Regions from separate parts of the Homo sapiens genome. Here region 1 is linked to region 2. The links are contacts of gene promoters, found by promoter capture Hi-C in human tissues and cell types (Jung and others, 2019). All regions are on one chromosome and are shown on one strand. The core of a region is centred on a gene start or on the middle of the fragment in contact, and the rest is flanking DNA. Distances in the headings are between cores, read along the strand shown.

Evidence for each region. The method cuts DNA at HindIII sites, captures the fragments that hold promoters and counts their contacts. A contact is called where the count stands out against the background at its distance.
Region 1: a contact is called between a fragment that was not itself captured here and the fragment with the promoter of COL3A1 in region 2, in 2 of the 25 tissues and cell types used here (bladder and mesenchymal stem cells).

Annotation. Positions count from the first base shown.
Region 1 is chr2:188,881,365-188,888,740 of GRCh38, reverse strand. No RefSeq gene overlaps it. Among named protein-coding and RNA genes, the nearest start is that of COL3A1, 89 kb to the left of the region's middle. The HindIII fragment of the contact is 3,646 bases long and covers 3,389-7,034 here.
Region 2 is chr2:188,972,292-188,979,678 of GRCh38, reverse strand. COL3A1 (collagen type III alpha 1 chain) reads right to left here and starts at 5,306. Exons shown (of 51, transcript NM_000090.4): 1 at 5,111-5,306. The coding sequence starts at 5,189. All of the region lies in intron 1 of LOC105373791 (a long non-coding RNA gene), which reads left to right. MIR1245A (microRNA 1245a) reads right to left here and starts at 1,587; the gene lies at 1,518-1,587. MIR1245B (microRNA 1245b) reads left to right here and starts at 1,518; the gene lies at 1,518-1,586. The HindIII fragment of the contact is 6,513 bases long and covers 3,286-7,387 here.

The DNA of each region.
Region 1 (7,376 bases), core at 3,962-6,461, 91 kb after region 2:
AAAGACAAAGTTTAAGTGTGGCCAAAAAGACGTATTCCTTTCCAACTAGTGACAACCAGACAGTCAGCTGACTTTTCATGCAACAGCAACAAGAGTAAATATTTTTACCGTGAGTGGACTAAAAATGTTCACATTAAAACACAATGATTGTCAGACTAGGTAAAAAACAAAATCTAACTATGAACTACTTACAAGAGAAACATCCATAATAAAAGATACAGAAATATTGAAATTTGGAAGATGAAAAAATGTATATGATAAAAAACTGTAGGTAAAAGAAAGCTATGCAGTTTGACATCTCTCTTTGTAAGACAGATTTTCGTAAATGGTGATGAGCACATCTAGAGGTTGGTGTGAAAGTACAATGGAACATCATATGTGGTTAGAATTTTTGTGCATTTTAAATAAAAATAAATGTCATTGGTATGATCCCTCTTTTCTCCCATCCTTAATTTAGATGTCTTCTATTTTAGCCATGTGAGAATAGCTTTCATGTCTAATCTTGTTTCTTAATTGTGTGTTTTCTTCTTCCTTGGAGATGTTCTCTTCATTTAATAATTATTGGGTATTTTCTCCAAAGACATTTACTACTAAATGCCCATTGAACAGTAATAAAAGTCCTCTTTTTCTTGAACTATGAAGGCAAAAATATCATTTCTTACAACCAGAAAAAAATGCATCTCATGCATCTCTACTGAATAATAGCTACTACTGATAGAATACTGCAATGTATCTTGTATTTTTATCCGTCCAAATACAACTGAATGTTCTTTGAGTCATTATTAATTGATATTGTTACTATATTTCATTTGCTTTGTTCATTTTGACAAGTCTAAAATGCAGACAACTTTCTGTCTTCCCTTTTCCTTTTCCCTTACTTCCTTACTTGTCATCTTTTTCCTTACTTTTAGACAAACTGAAATCTTTTTTTTACTAAAAACATTTCAAAGTTACTAATCCTAGATTTTAAGCATATATTAGCAAGTACAAATATTACAAACAAACAGAGCTAGAGAGATTAGATTGGATTGCAAGAGCTGAAATGTTTACAATCTCAGAAGTTGGTGGCCATTTTTTTTTAAAGAAGATTTTGTGTTTACTTGTTCTGGATAGATCAAAAACATAGACCTGGGTGTGTGTCAAATTATAATGCTTGAAAAGTTGCTACTGTAATTGTAGCGGGAAGAGAAATGGACATGTAGGAAGAAGACTTGTATTCCAGGCCTGATTCTTCCACTTAATGTGATGTGATTTTGGAAAAGGCACTTTACCACTTGGAATCTGGGGTTTTGACTCAGTACTCAGTAAAACAGAGATAATAACACATCCTGAGGTTGGTGTGAGAGTCCAATGGAACATCATATGTGATTAAAATCTGTGTGTTTAAAATAAAAGTAAATGTTATTGGTATTATTCTTCTCTTCCCCTGAACTTAATTTAGGTTTCTTTTCTTTTCTTTTCTTTTCTTTTCTTTTTTTTTTTTTTTTAACAGAATCTTGCTCTGTCACCCAGGCTTGAGGGCAGTGGTGTGATCTCGGGTCACTGCAACCTCCATATCCTGGGTTTAAGTGATTCTCCTGTTCTCCTGCCTCAGCCTCCCAAGTAGCTGGGACTACAGGCATGCACCACCATGCCCAGCTAATTTTTGCATTTGTAGTAGAGACAGGGTTTTTTCATGTTGGCCAGGCTGGTCTCAAACTGCTGACCTCAAGTTATCTGCCTGCCTGGACCTCCCAAACTGCTGGGATTACAGGTGTGAGCCACCACGCCTGGCCAAATTTAAGTATATTCTATGTTTTGAAGTTTCTCCCCATTTGAATCTCCTGTGCTTCAACTGGATGTTCTTATCTCAATGTTCCACCTATATCCACTATTCCATGCATCAGATCTCCCTTCTTCTACCTCTGACAAAACTTTCCTATACACTGTGCCTTCCAAATTTGATATTGAACTAAACCAAATACCAAATAATTAACATATGCTAAATTGCTGATAGCTACTAATTGCATCTCGCTTGCTAAGAGTTCTTCCACAAAAGTCATCAGTTACAAGAGATATGTTTCATTTTTCTATTCCTATTTTGCTAATACAGTTACTAGCAGATAATGGGCACTCAATGAATAATTGTAAGTAGAATAAGTGCATGTTCCCCCATAGCTGAGAAATCTCTGAGACTATTGTGTTTGCCTCAAGTATAGGTAGAAATAAAACGCAAACAAAATGCAACCCACACATATATTCAGTGGTTATGGGAAGCTTTTTTTGGCCAATATAGAGAATTTCCATCTAATAACAGGGCTTTTAGGTGAAAAATTAAACTTCTCATTTTAGAAATTTGAATTTGACTTTTTTTTACATTTATAAAAATGCATGATTCCTAGCTATACACATAGACCACATGTGGTTCTAAGTCATACAAAAAAAATTAATCCATTCATTCCACATTTTATCTGCTTACCTGGAGGAGAAAAAAAGTTCAAGCAACTAAATATTTAAAATAATTGATTTTTCATTTTAAGAGCTCTTTAAATCTGAGAACTATGAAAGACATCACTTTGAAAGAGTAAAATAATACACCACAACCACGTGTGGCACCAATACAATACTAAAAACAGAGGGAGGGAGAGAGAAAGAGAGAGAGAGAGAAGCAAATTGCAATGGATGTTTCAAAAGTAATTTATAATCTACCTGTATGTCACAGATTCTTTTACAGTAAAGTGTGTAAGACCCTCCTACCTCCTTCTTGTTGACAAAGGAATGAATCGACTGACTAAATTATTTTAAAAGCTTAAAGTCAAACTTTCTTAAATTCAAAGAAATGTCTTTGAAATTAACTACAAATCACAATGTCCTTTTGCATGGTAAAACAATAAAACATTATTAGCTAATTAATTAAAGGGTTGAAAGTTGATGGACGTCCCCCCCCAAACACCCCACCTCCAATATTTTTTTTTTTTTTTTTTTTTGAGACAGAGTCTTACTCTGTCGCCCAGGCTGGAGTGCAGTGGCACAATCTCGGCTCACTGCAACCTCCACCTCCCAGGTTCGAGCAATTCTCCTGCCTCAGCCCCCGAATAGCTGGCGTGCACCGCCACGCCCAGCTAATTTTTGTATTTTTAGTAGAGATGGGGTTTCGCCATGTTGGCCAGGCTGGTCTCAAACTGCTGAGCTCAGGTGATCTACCTGCCTCAGCCTCCCAAAGTGCTGGGATTACATTGGGCCAGTATTCGTCTTTTAAAAATAAAATAGATTGCTAATTTTCTGAACTTTTAAATAGAAATTAGACATTTTAAGTAATCTCAGCACAGAAATGAGCTACCTATGGGCCAATAACTGCGGTTTGAGTCTTGTTATTTTAGCTCCTGTCTTAGCATTAGCCTCATCTATACACACCTATGAGTATGGTTATATTATACATACATAGAGAAAACGGCAAGAAAAATAAGTAAACTGACTCAAATAAAATGCTTTTTCTAATTTTAAGATTTCAGCATCCTATTTTTTTCTTCAGATACATTTGATAATGAAAGGAGGTGTTTTTTAAAAAATATAAAAACTAACTTTGTAATAAAAATAATACTTCCAACACTTCCAAGTATGGAATTTGATGTATAATCCCAAAATTACACTAATAATTTCCTTTCAAAAGTTATTTGAATTAATTGAAATCATTATAAACGAGAAATACCACATATCCTCTATACACTTCCTCAATCACAAATCATGTCAAAGAGGGCATTTTCTTAGCGATTTACTCCCTTACAGATTGATTTTTCTTTATTAGTTAGCAAGATGGCATTAAATTGATTTTTAATGTTTTTTATGTTTAGATAACTAATACATTTTGTAAGATTTTAAATAATATAATCTATGTGAAACAAAATCTTATCTTTTAGAGGTATACAGTCAATATTCTATAAAAAAAAGTCAGTGGGAAAACTTTCGCAATATATCCCTCAAATTTTCCATTACATTTTCTCCAGACAAGCTTCAATGTCGTAATAATGTGACTCCTTTTGAATAAACATGTAGGTTCTATGTGGGCCTCTGCCACTCTCTGTTACATTCTATCATATAAAAATAACATATAGTTTAAAAATGTTAGGATAAAATACATATTAAAAACCGTGACCAAGAACTTTGTAAAATGGGATTTTGGTTTACTTGACATTAAATTGCAGATTATTAATGCTGCAAAGATAATTTTTAGGTGGATTCTTTGTGTGTATATTTGTTTGGGTGATGGGAGTGGAGGAGAATGGTAAAATAATCAGACTGACATCTTAGCTTTCTCCATTTTATGAAGCAGTGTATTCCAAGTGTTTATAGCTGGATCTAACAAAAAGCTTTCTTTTTTCACTTGATTTGAGCATTTGTTTGTTTATCTTTTCTCAGGCTGCTTCTACAAACACAAAGTTGCAATGCCCTAACATATTACAGAACTAGCCTGTGTTTACTTTCCCCCCATTTGACCACCCACAAGTTGAGTCAGAGTTGTACTTTACATTTTCCTAAACCAAAACCACATGGAGGAAATACACTTCCTTGGGTCTCTTTAAAATCATGAAATTAAGCCTTTCTTGGATTCTATCTCCAACAAGTAACAGATAATCTTGCGCTTGTGAATACCTCTAAGTTATTAAGCTGGGAGTGTTGCTGCAGCTGATCAAGAAAACTGGAGCCCCAGAAACAGTCACAGAACTTAGAGCTGAAAAGAGTAACAGAAATCAATTAAATTTAAGTGCTTCTTATAGGTGGGGAAACTGGCTTAGAGAGGCTGAACTCTTGCCCATGGTTATTATAAAAACCAAGATGAGACTTGGTGACTGGGTTTCTAGCCAGAATCTACTCTAATTAACCACTGTATTCCAACTGAACCGATTGCTAAAACATTTAACTAAGCAAGGGATCCATTTGCTGATTTGTGCAATTGCATCTTTTCTCGTTTCATATCATCTGCTGAATGTGCTAAGTAATGTTAGAATTAAATTTAATTATTTAACATTAGCATAAATTTAAAAATATTTTTGACCCTTTATATCTTTCTCTAACCCTTTTTCCCTCCCTGAGGAAATGGTATTCTCGCAAGCCTTTTGTGTCTTGAGCCCATTTATTTCTTCATCCTCTGATCTAAAATGGCTACTGGGATGTTGCCTTGTCCTGGCAATAAAGCAACTTCACACTGACCTGTTTTGTTAGATGCAATATTGTTCTTCTAGGCTTCACAAAACCTTCTTAGTCCTTAACAATACGTGAATGAATCCTCTGGACACAAATATATATTTCAGTTATTTCTACATAATGTCTCTGAATAATAATTGTGAGTTTTTATTATATATTCAATATTATTATGGAAAATCCTTAACAGGTAATGGCGTTGAGAATTTTCAGGCTTTATGAAATTTAAAGCTGTAACACTTTAAAGTTTGGTTTTCCTAAAAGAATCCAAAGTCTGGCTCAGATTTTAGCATCCTATCTAGAGCACTCCAAATTATGTATGTAAATCTTTGTTCTTCCAAGAGGAAAATAATTGTTCTTCTTTATTATTTTAATCTTTAGCATGCAATGAAATAATTGATTTGAGATCACATAGGGAATTTCTCAAGGGTCTCAGAAGTTAGAGAGAAAATTACAGTCATATTAGCTCGACTACATCACTCATTCAAAGGATCTCAGCATATCAAGCCAAGGTATGACTTTTTTCTTTTGAGTAGTAACATTGAGAGCCATTTTAAAACCCTATGTTTCACTAAGAAACAATGCAAATTGAGTGAATTCTCTTCTACCCCCTGCCTTTTCAAAAATCTTCCTCAATTACTACACTCTTTTCATCCAGCAAGTTACACTGCCTGTGGGAAGTAATGCTAACTTATCATTTTCTTTTTCTTCTCTCATATAATATCTTGATAAAGGGATTCTGTCCTAAAGATATCACCTAATGGGCTTTCATGTAATCGACTGGTGTACTTTTACTTACTATTTCTTAGCAGACTAAGACACACTAAATTATTCTACCTTGCACTACTACTGCTTATTTAGATCACACCAAATCCTATTTTAACTGATACATGTTGGGTTTAAATTATAGTTAATAGATAGTCATCTTGACAAGCCAGATGTGGTATTATGATGTATGGTCATAATACTTGTCTTATGAGCCTCCTCTACTGTGTCCAAATTCAACCTCCAGCTCTTTCCTTCATGTCCTTCTTTATCCAGCCTTATCCAGGACTTATCCAGTCCATGAAACACAGTTTTCTGCCAACATTTTCAAACTCCCTTGCCCTACTCTCTCTTGGTGTTAAAAGTCTATCTGGCAAAACTCAATCTAATTGTATTCAGATATCTACTTTCTCTGCTTCTGTTTCCAAATGGCTAAGCACTGCTGGAATATTCACATGACAGAACAACCTGGGTCTATGACAAATTCATAATCCCAACCTTGAAAGGACATTCAACATTACTAGACAATTCAACTACAGCATCTCTGTACTACTTTCCTACTCTCAGCATTTCCTTCTCTAACCCTCTCTACCTACATCAAACCCTAACCCCCACCCCCATTCACTCTCACTATGAGTTGATTATCTGACTTCTAGTTCAGAGAGATAGTAATAATAGCAATGATAAATATATACATAATGCTTACCATATGCCTGGCACTAGTTTTTAAAATTTACATATATCAACTACCCTAGGAAAATGGCGCTATTTCTATCACCTGTTTATAGAGGCACAGATAATTTAAATACTTTGCCCACAGTCACACAGCTAGCAAGCGACAGTCAGGTTTTCACTCAGGATTCTAATTTGAGTCTATGCCTTTGACCACTATACATATTGCCTTCTCCTGAAACCACATGTCCAAGCTGCCTACGTCTCATAATGAGGCTCCCCCTCTTACCTGGGGCCAATCCTTCCCATCACCTGTGACTAGAGTTTTATGTTTTTATTCTCAGCAGCCCCACATGATTTATTAAACTTCTTCTTTTGTGTGTAGATTTACCCTCTTCTCATTCAGTCAACCATCTCCTTCTCTCTGCCCATCCACACATACATTTTTTGGAAAAGATGACTGTTCTCCCTTTTTACATGTCATCACTTTTTACTATCTACTCAGCACATTCTTCAGTCTTGACCCTCTACCCATCCAGCTTTTACCTAGCTTACAACTGACCTCCATGACACCAATTCCAACACAAATTTTTCACCCCTCATTTCACTTGTGCTCCCACCAGTGTTCCATTCTGTTGACTACTGCCTCGTCTCTGAAACCCTGTCTTCCCTTGGCTTTTGTGAAACAATTGTATATCTATCTATCTATCTATCTATCTATCTATCTATCTATCTATCTATTTATCAATCATCCATCTAAT
Region 2 (7,387 bases), core at 4,057-6,556:
GACAACAGTTCTTTGCAAAATATTTTTCTATCTGGCCTCAAAACAGGAAGATGCCATCTGGAGTTAAATTCTCCTGTTTATTTTCTCTTGACCTTATGAAGAAGGGTTATATCTCTAAAGCTACCCTGATGACATCCAGACCACCAACAGAATAAATGTGTGACTCAGAAACCCTGCATACATTTTGCTATATACAAAAAAGTAGGGTTCTAACAACAATAGTACCAGACAGAAAAGACTTCTGCATCCAATGCAAAAATATGTTTAAGATGTCTCATTAACACACTGTTTTTCAGAAAATATAGTTACTAAATGATTCATGTTAATATACATCTAAGTTCATCAGAAGTTTTCACTGAATGAAACTGGAACGTTGTGAACATGCTATGCAACTCCAAAGAGTATTTCTGTGATTTTAATTTACTTGAGAAATGCAGTCTCTGTCATCCTCCACACAAAATACTATAGAAAAACAGTTTCAGAAAAATATATGCCATTTTACTGAAGCAGTACTTTCTTAATACTAGAATTCAAGGGAAGTTTAACTTTTAATAATTTCTGGATCTTTTCTCTTTGATGTTTACATCTTTTGGGCATTTTGACTCGTCCTCTTTCAACGTTTCATTTTGTTCATTAAGACTACATTTTAAACAGCAGTGCTTGACCTCAGTCATGGAAAAAAACAAGGGTTTTATTAGTTAATCTGAAAGGAATCCACTTCTGCTGTGTTTTCATTAGACACAGACTGAAACTCTGGTGGTTAATGTAACTCCCCCAACTGCAGTTCACAAATGATTTATGTAAGAATAGCTATCTCATTTTTTCCGTTGTCATCTTGACATGAAACAGGCAAAGTTTCCCCTTTGAAAAGTCTGGAGAGTTTTTTTTTACACTATATGATCTTTTTTTTTTTTTTTTTTTTGAGTGTGGAAACAATGGGATTGAGCTTTTATCTTAGGGAAAACTTTTACAAGAAACAGTTCACTGAGAGGGTTCCAGAAAGTTATTGTAGACCTGGAAACTTTACAACTGTTCCTCATGTCCAGCAAAAGCAATAACATCTTTCATCTTTAAAGCTTTAATTCTTTAAGCAATCTACTTTAATCACTTCAAGGCGGTGATATCATTAGATGTTACAAAATTAAAGAGCTGGGCTACATAATTTTTGGAACTCTGCACCAAAGAAGCCATTCACAATGGAAACTGTGGAGTTTCGGTAGATGGCACTCTTTTCTCTGAGTGACAACTCAAGGTCCAGCATGTGACCGTAGATGTAGAACAGGGGCTTTCCTGAGGAGCTGTCCTTTAGCCTCAACTATAATCCTGGTAAACTCACAGCCAATCATTCTTGATTTTTAAAAAGAAGCCTGTAGATAAGACATCAATCCAGGAATCTGAAGTAGTTAAGAGGCATTTAATCACAGTCTTTCCTTCTTTCCCAGAATTGTTCCAGTGGATTTGCTTTCTTTTCTTGTAATGCTGAAATGTTTAATTCCAGAATTTAATAAAAATACCTTTTTATATGTAGGCCTTTAGATCACTTAAAGAGTATTCAACATCAGATGATCTAAAGGCCTATACATAAATAGGTAGTTTTGAAAATCCAAATTTTTCAAGGCTCTGTTATTACCTGAGCATTTTTCTTTCCCTAGAAAAAAAGCTCAGGTAAGTAAATACAAGGTATCATGGATGAAAAACACAAAGTGTTATAATACTTTATTTACTCACACAGAACTGGTGATAATTTCTTTTAAAATGATAAGATCCTGAGCTTCTGGGGTTTAAAAAAATTAACGTACTACTCTCTATAAAATTGAATATTAAACAGAAAAATACCTATTCTTTTTTCACCTTTAGAAATGCATTATTAGTTCATGTACTTTCTAGGACGATATATAATTTTTTTAGTATCTCCTTTCAATGACAAATAGTTACAAAATTAAGAAAATTCAAATATCTGATTTTAATGTGTATTCTATAATTATCTAAGACTGAACAGAATATTGGTCCTAGCCTTGACTCCGTCATTTTCTAGTTTTGTAATCTCAAATAAAGCACTGATCCATGTTAGGTGACTGACACTGAGATATGTGAGCAACTATGCATTCTCTCCCTTTAAAAGTGCAATTGTTCCTAAATGTATGTAACCTTTTCCTGTTAGTTCAGTGTGTTTAATTGTAGGGACAAACACAAACCAGAAAACTTGAATGTTACCTGAGCAAGTTACAAATTCCCTCTTAAAGCATAATGAAAAAAATATACTCTCATGACGTCTAATAAGAAACTGATTCTCTGAGTCCATTTACAGTTTTAAAATTCTAAAACAACTAGAGGCCTACAGTTTATTTTACTGGAATTATCACTGTAGCAAAATATAGAAACTCAAACATTAGTACACATTTAATTAAAATAAAGTTTCTGTTTCTGCCCTAATGGAGCAGTATTACTTAGTAACAGCTGTCTATAATCTATCTAACAATTAAGCAGTGAATAAAATACTTATGTCAAATAAGGACTACATCAGAGACATGAAAAATGTATTTAAACAATAGTCATATGTAGAATTTTTAAGTGGCCGTAACATTTAAGCTAATTTCCAAAAAGACTCTGAATATTGTTACCATTGTGTTTTCGTGTCAGTATATGTGTTTGCAATATTTATCCGTAACATACTAATTTCCTTAGGAGAGCAGTGTTAACATTTAAAATTCACGCATATGAATTTTTTAAAGCTCATTATAAACTACCAAAGCCAGCTACATAACATTAATATTGGCATTCGTTATGTAAATGGTAACCTGGCTTGTCAGCCACTAGGTGACGCATCTTTGTACTTAAAACTTGGCATGTTTATAATCTACAGGAAATATAAAACAGACTATGTTTCTCCATTGGTGGATTAAAACACATGAATTAAATACAATGTTCACAAATTTGTAAGACGACCAAAATTCTTTTTGAGGACTTGTTTGTATCCAGAAAATGCCTGTGAGTGAACTAGAAGTGAGTGTTCATTAGAGCTGTGCCGTCTCTGAAGTTATGAGGGCATATATAAGAAACCCCACCCCAGAACTTTATGACAGCTCTCAGTGTGCTGTATATTCAGATACCTCCTGTAACTTTTCCAAAGCTTATCTAATAGCAGAATTTCCTTGTAAAACCCACAGGGAACATAAGATGTACTGTCTTAAGTCACTTCAACTTTACTTTTACTCATGACAAAAAAAATAGGCTGAACAGTTCTCTTTCAACTCTTTTTGAGCTTAAGAACACACAAACACATATCAGCAAAATTTTATACTTATTGATTATTTTTTGCATCTAAAGAGAAAGAGGGAAATAAACAGAACTTAATGTGATGTCAAGGTACTGTAAGTGGCAAACACCCCCCCACTAAAGTTGGATTGGGAAGAAAAATAGCCACAGTGCTTATAAAAAGCTTGCAACCACGAGGCAACTACAAATATGTTGCAATTTTTTGAGCTAAAACCCCTAAGTTTGTAGTCTTTTCAATAAATGGTTGGTGGGGGATAGTAGTCATTTGGTATCCTAAAAAAGGACTGTGAGTTGTAGCATCTCCTGGGAAGAGCAGGATAGGGAGGAAAAGGGGAGAGGAATGAGAAAGGAAGAAGGATTGAGAGTTCAGGGGAAAGAAAGGGTGAGGAGGCAAGGAGAGAGAGAACTAAAAAAAAGAAATGGAGGCATAAGGAGGCCACATGGGGAGTAGGGAGGGAGTAACAGGCAGGGAAGACAGAGGAGGAGAGAGGAGTAGATATGGGCTTGCCTAGGAAGGGGTGGGGTGATGAGTGAAGAGAAGTCTAAAGGAGCCAAAAGGGGTGGAGAGAGATAAGGAGGAGGGCAAAGCGAAGGAGAGGAGGGGTAAGGAGGAGAGGAAATTAAGGGAACAAGGAAAATGGGTGTTTCTTTTCTTTTGTGTCCATGGGCTGAATATAACTGAAGACATTTCATTGTATATCTACCCCTCCCCTCATACACACATTTACATGTATTAGCTATGAGGACAACAAATACATTTGATATTACAAACAAAAACCAAATTTTCATGCAGTGTCCTTTGCAAAATCTATATGTTTAAATGTAACCATGTTTAGTTATGTGCAATAAAAATTGTCTAATAATTTCTCCTAGCTATCTTTACATTTAGCACTTAAATATTTATTTCTATGGAAGTTTGTATTCCAATTTGTTCAGCATTTTCATGACTATGGTAAATAAAAGAATATTTTCACATAAATAATGAGACAAATGTGTTTTTAGGGGAAATTAGAATATGAAAAACATTACATGCAATTATTAGAAAATATAGCAAAACAGCTTTCTGAAGTCAAACAGTACTAGTATCTTTACCTTGTTTGCAGCAAAGTCAAACCTCCTGTTGAAACATTTTAAAAAATATTTTCTTCATTAATGCGAATGTGGTTAAAACGTAGAATATGTGGAAAATATTAGTCCCTTAATATCAAGCTACTAGAAAAGATGAATTAATCAATCATTCTTGAAACAAAATAAAAACAGGAATAATAAAATATTTTAGCAGTTTGATCCCTTTGAAGAATGTTTATAGGTATCTTGTAGCCATTTTACAGAAATATATTCAATGATTCTGATAATGCGTAGAATCTTCCTTTAGACTGTTCTTAATCCATGATATTTGAAAGGCATTCTTATTCAGAAAACAATGCTCAATATTCTAACCTTACAAAGAATCCAGCAGACAAAGAGGAACATAAAATTATTGCAAGAGACCAATAACTTCCAGACTGCCTGGGGAAGTATTCCAAGATGTTAACAATCCAGGAGGGAAAAATTTTAAAGCCATTTTTAAAAGTTTCCAGTGCCTTTAACATGAAAACAAGTTAGTACAAGAACATCTTATCTTAACCACAGAACTCTTAAAAACACACATAACGCGATTATTTTTCAAGTAATGTAAAAAGCACAGCCATGGTCAGTTCAACGTTTCACAATCTGGAGCTTATAGAGGAAATTATCTTGAATCAGGCAACTGATTTTCCCCTTTACACCCCTCTTTGTGAGGAGAAGAAAGACAAAAATCCCATAAAGTTTCTTGAAATCAGTACCTACTCACCTTCCTGTTGTGCCAAAATAATAGTGGGATGAAGCAGAGCGAGAAGTAGCCAGCTCCCCTTTTGCACAAAGCTCATCATGTCTAAATATCAGACATGAGACTCTTTGTGCAAAAAGGAGAAAAGAAAAGCAGTTCAAAGTAGCACCATCAAGTTGTTCCCTGCCCTTCAGCACCGGGCCCGTCATAAAACTCAGCCACTGAGATTCCTTTGCTTTGGCCTTAAATAGGAAAAAGTTTGGCTTCCCTCACTTTCCAGCCCCTTTCTGAAATATGAGAGCCGCACCCATCCCCTCAGCAGTAAAAGAAATGATAAATATTTCTTTTTCCCTTATAGAAGACACAACCCACAGTAAGAAAAAGAGCACATCTGGAGTTTGTATGCATCTGCTTATGTAAAAGTTTTTTTACATATTTCACTCTTACATATATGTTTGTATAACTTAGGAACGTATAGAAATGCTCTGCCTTGTTTTAATACATACAATGTAAATGCATACATTTTTATTTCCCCTTATGAAGTTAACAACTGCATAATTTTGAAAAACTGCTTGATGCCCATTTATCTAGTATGTCTAATTTACAGAACTGATCTTCCTAGAAGATTTTTATGTTGGGATTTTGCCAGAAGTAATCCTAACTCAATTTAAATAGGAGACTGTAAGAGACTCACGGAAAGAAATGCCACCGTATGCCCCTTCGACTCATCCACCCACCCTGGGTCCTAGAAGTTAAGTTTCAGGCAAATATCAAAAGACAAAGTATTTCAGCAATGTTTGAATGGCTTCCTAAAAGTTAGATACTTATCTATAGCTGTTTCCATTTCTCACAAATTTCTTTAGCAAGCCAGAGTGCTTTCTTGTGAGATTTCCAATTTTTATGCTGCCTGGGAAAGACAGAGCAGATTTTTCTAGAGAAAAATTCAGCCTTTTCATGACATAACTTTTTAGGAAACTGGAAGAGAAAGAGTTTATCACATAGAATAGCAAAAGAGTACCAGAGAAAGTGGTCATTTTTTCTGCATTACTCTAAAGATTAGTATAAATATTTCTAATTTAGACTTTTATGTGTATACTTTCCAGATCCTCATCCACAAAACTTTCCAATGTATTTCTGGATCTATCTAAGCAGTAATTTTTGTGTCATATTTGAAAGAGGGGCAAATACCATTTATAGGTCTTTGATAAATCTCTGCAGGAAAAATATGCTTGTCCACAGTATAAGGCTATATCTGGCAATGGAGATATCTCTTTACACCCTAATCATCAGTTCATAGTTAGTTCATCTATCTCTATAATCTACGGTGGACATTTCAATTCTAATCAAGGTCACTTGAACTAATTTTCTTCACCTTCACCTAAACATGTCCGTCTCTATGCCTGTGCACATAAAATTCTCCCCATTTCACACCAATTAATGGAAGTCACTTCCTTATGCCTCAATGCAAAACTTTCCTCCTTAAGTAAATTACCTCCTTTAAACTAATTTTCATCTTTCTCTTTCTTCTAATTTGTGTTACTAAATTTTCACTCAACTCATGTCATATGTATATTCCCAGGTGTACATGAATCCTGTAAGCATGGACAGTGGCAAACTTGCTTTCTTGTTTCTTGCATCTTTTTTTTTTTTTTTTTTGCGACGGGGTCGCCCTCTCTCGCCCAGGCTAGACTGCAGTGGCGCAATCTCGGCTCACGGCAAGCTCCGCCTCCCGGGTTCACGCCATTCTCCTGCCTCAGCCTCCCGAGTAGCTGGGACTACAGGCGCCCGCCACTACGCCTGGTTAATTTTTTGTATTTTTAGTAGAGACGGGGTTTCACCGTGTTAGTCAGGATGGTCTTGATGTCCTGACCTCGTGATCCGCCCGCCTCGGCCTCCCAAGCTTTCTTATATCTTCAGTCACAAGGACACAAACCAAGACATCTCAATGTAGATGACATCATTTGATGACAGGAAAGGAAAACTAGAACGAGACCAACCTCTTGTGTATCTTTATTTTAGATTGGAGAGTCACTGCTTGGGGGCGTGGGAGAAAAGTAACTGTTGAGAATGGTCATGAATATAAGCTTTTCTACTGGATCACAGTAGAGATGCTGGGGAAAGGCTGTTATATGCATCTTTCTGTCTTTCAGACATCTTTGTCCTGTACACAAAAAATATTTCCTGTGTTCAAACCAATTCAGAAACATAGTTTTTCTCATGATGTCTTTGTATCTACGTAGAATTCATATATCTATATTAGATTTCTCTCATTGTTTTAGGTGGTCTATAAAAGCTGAAATT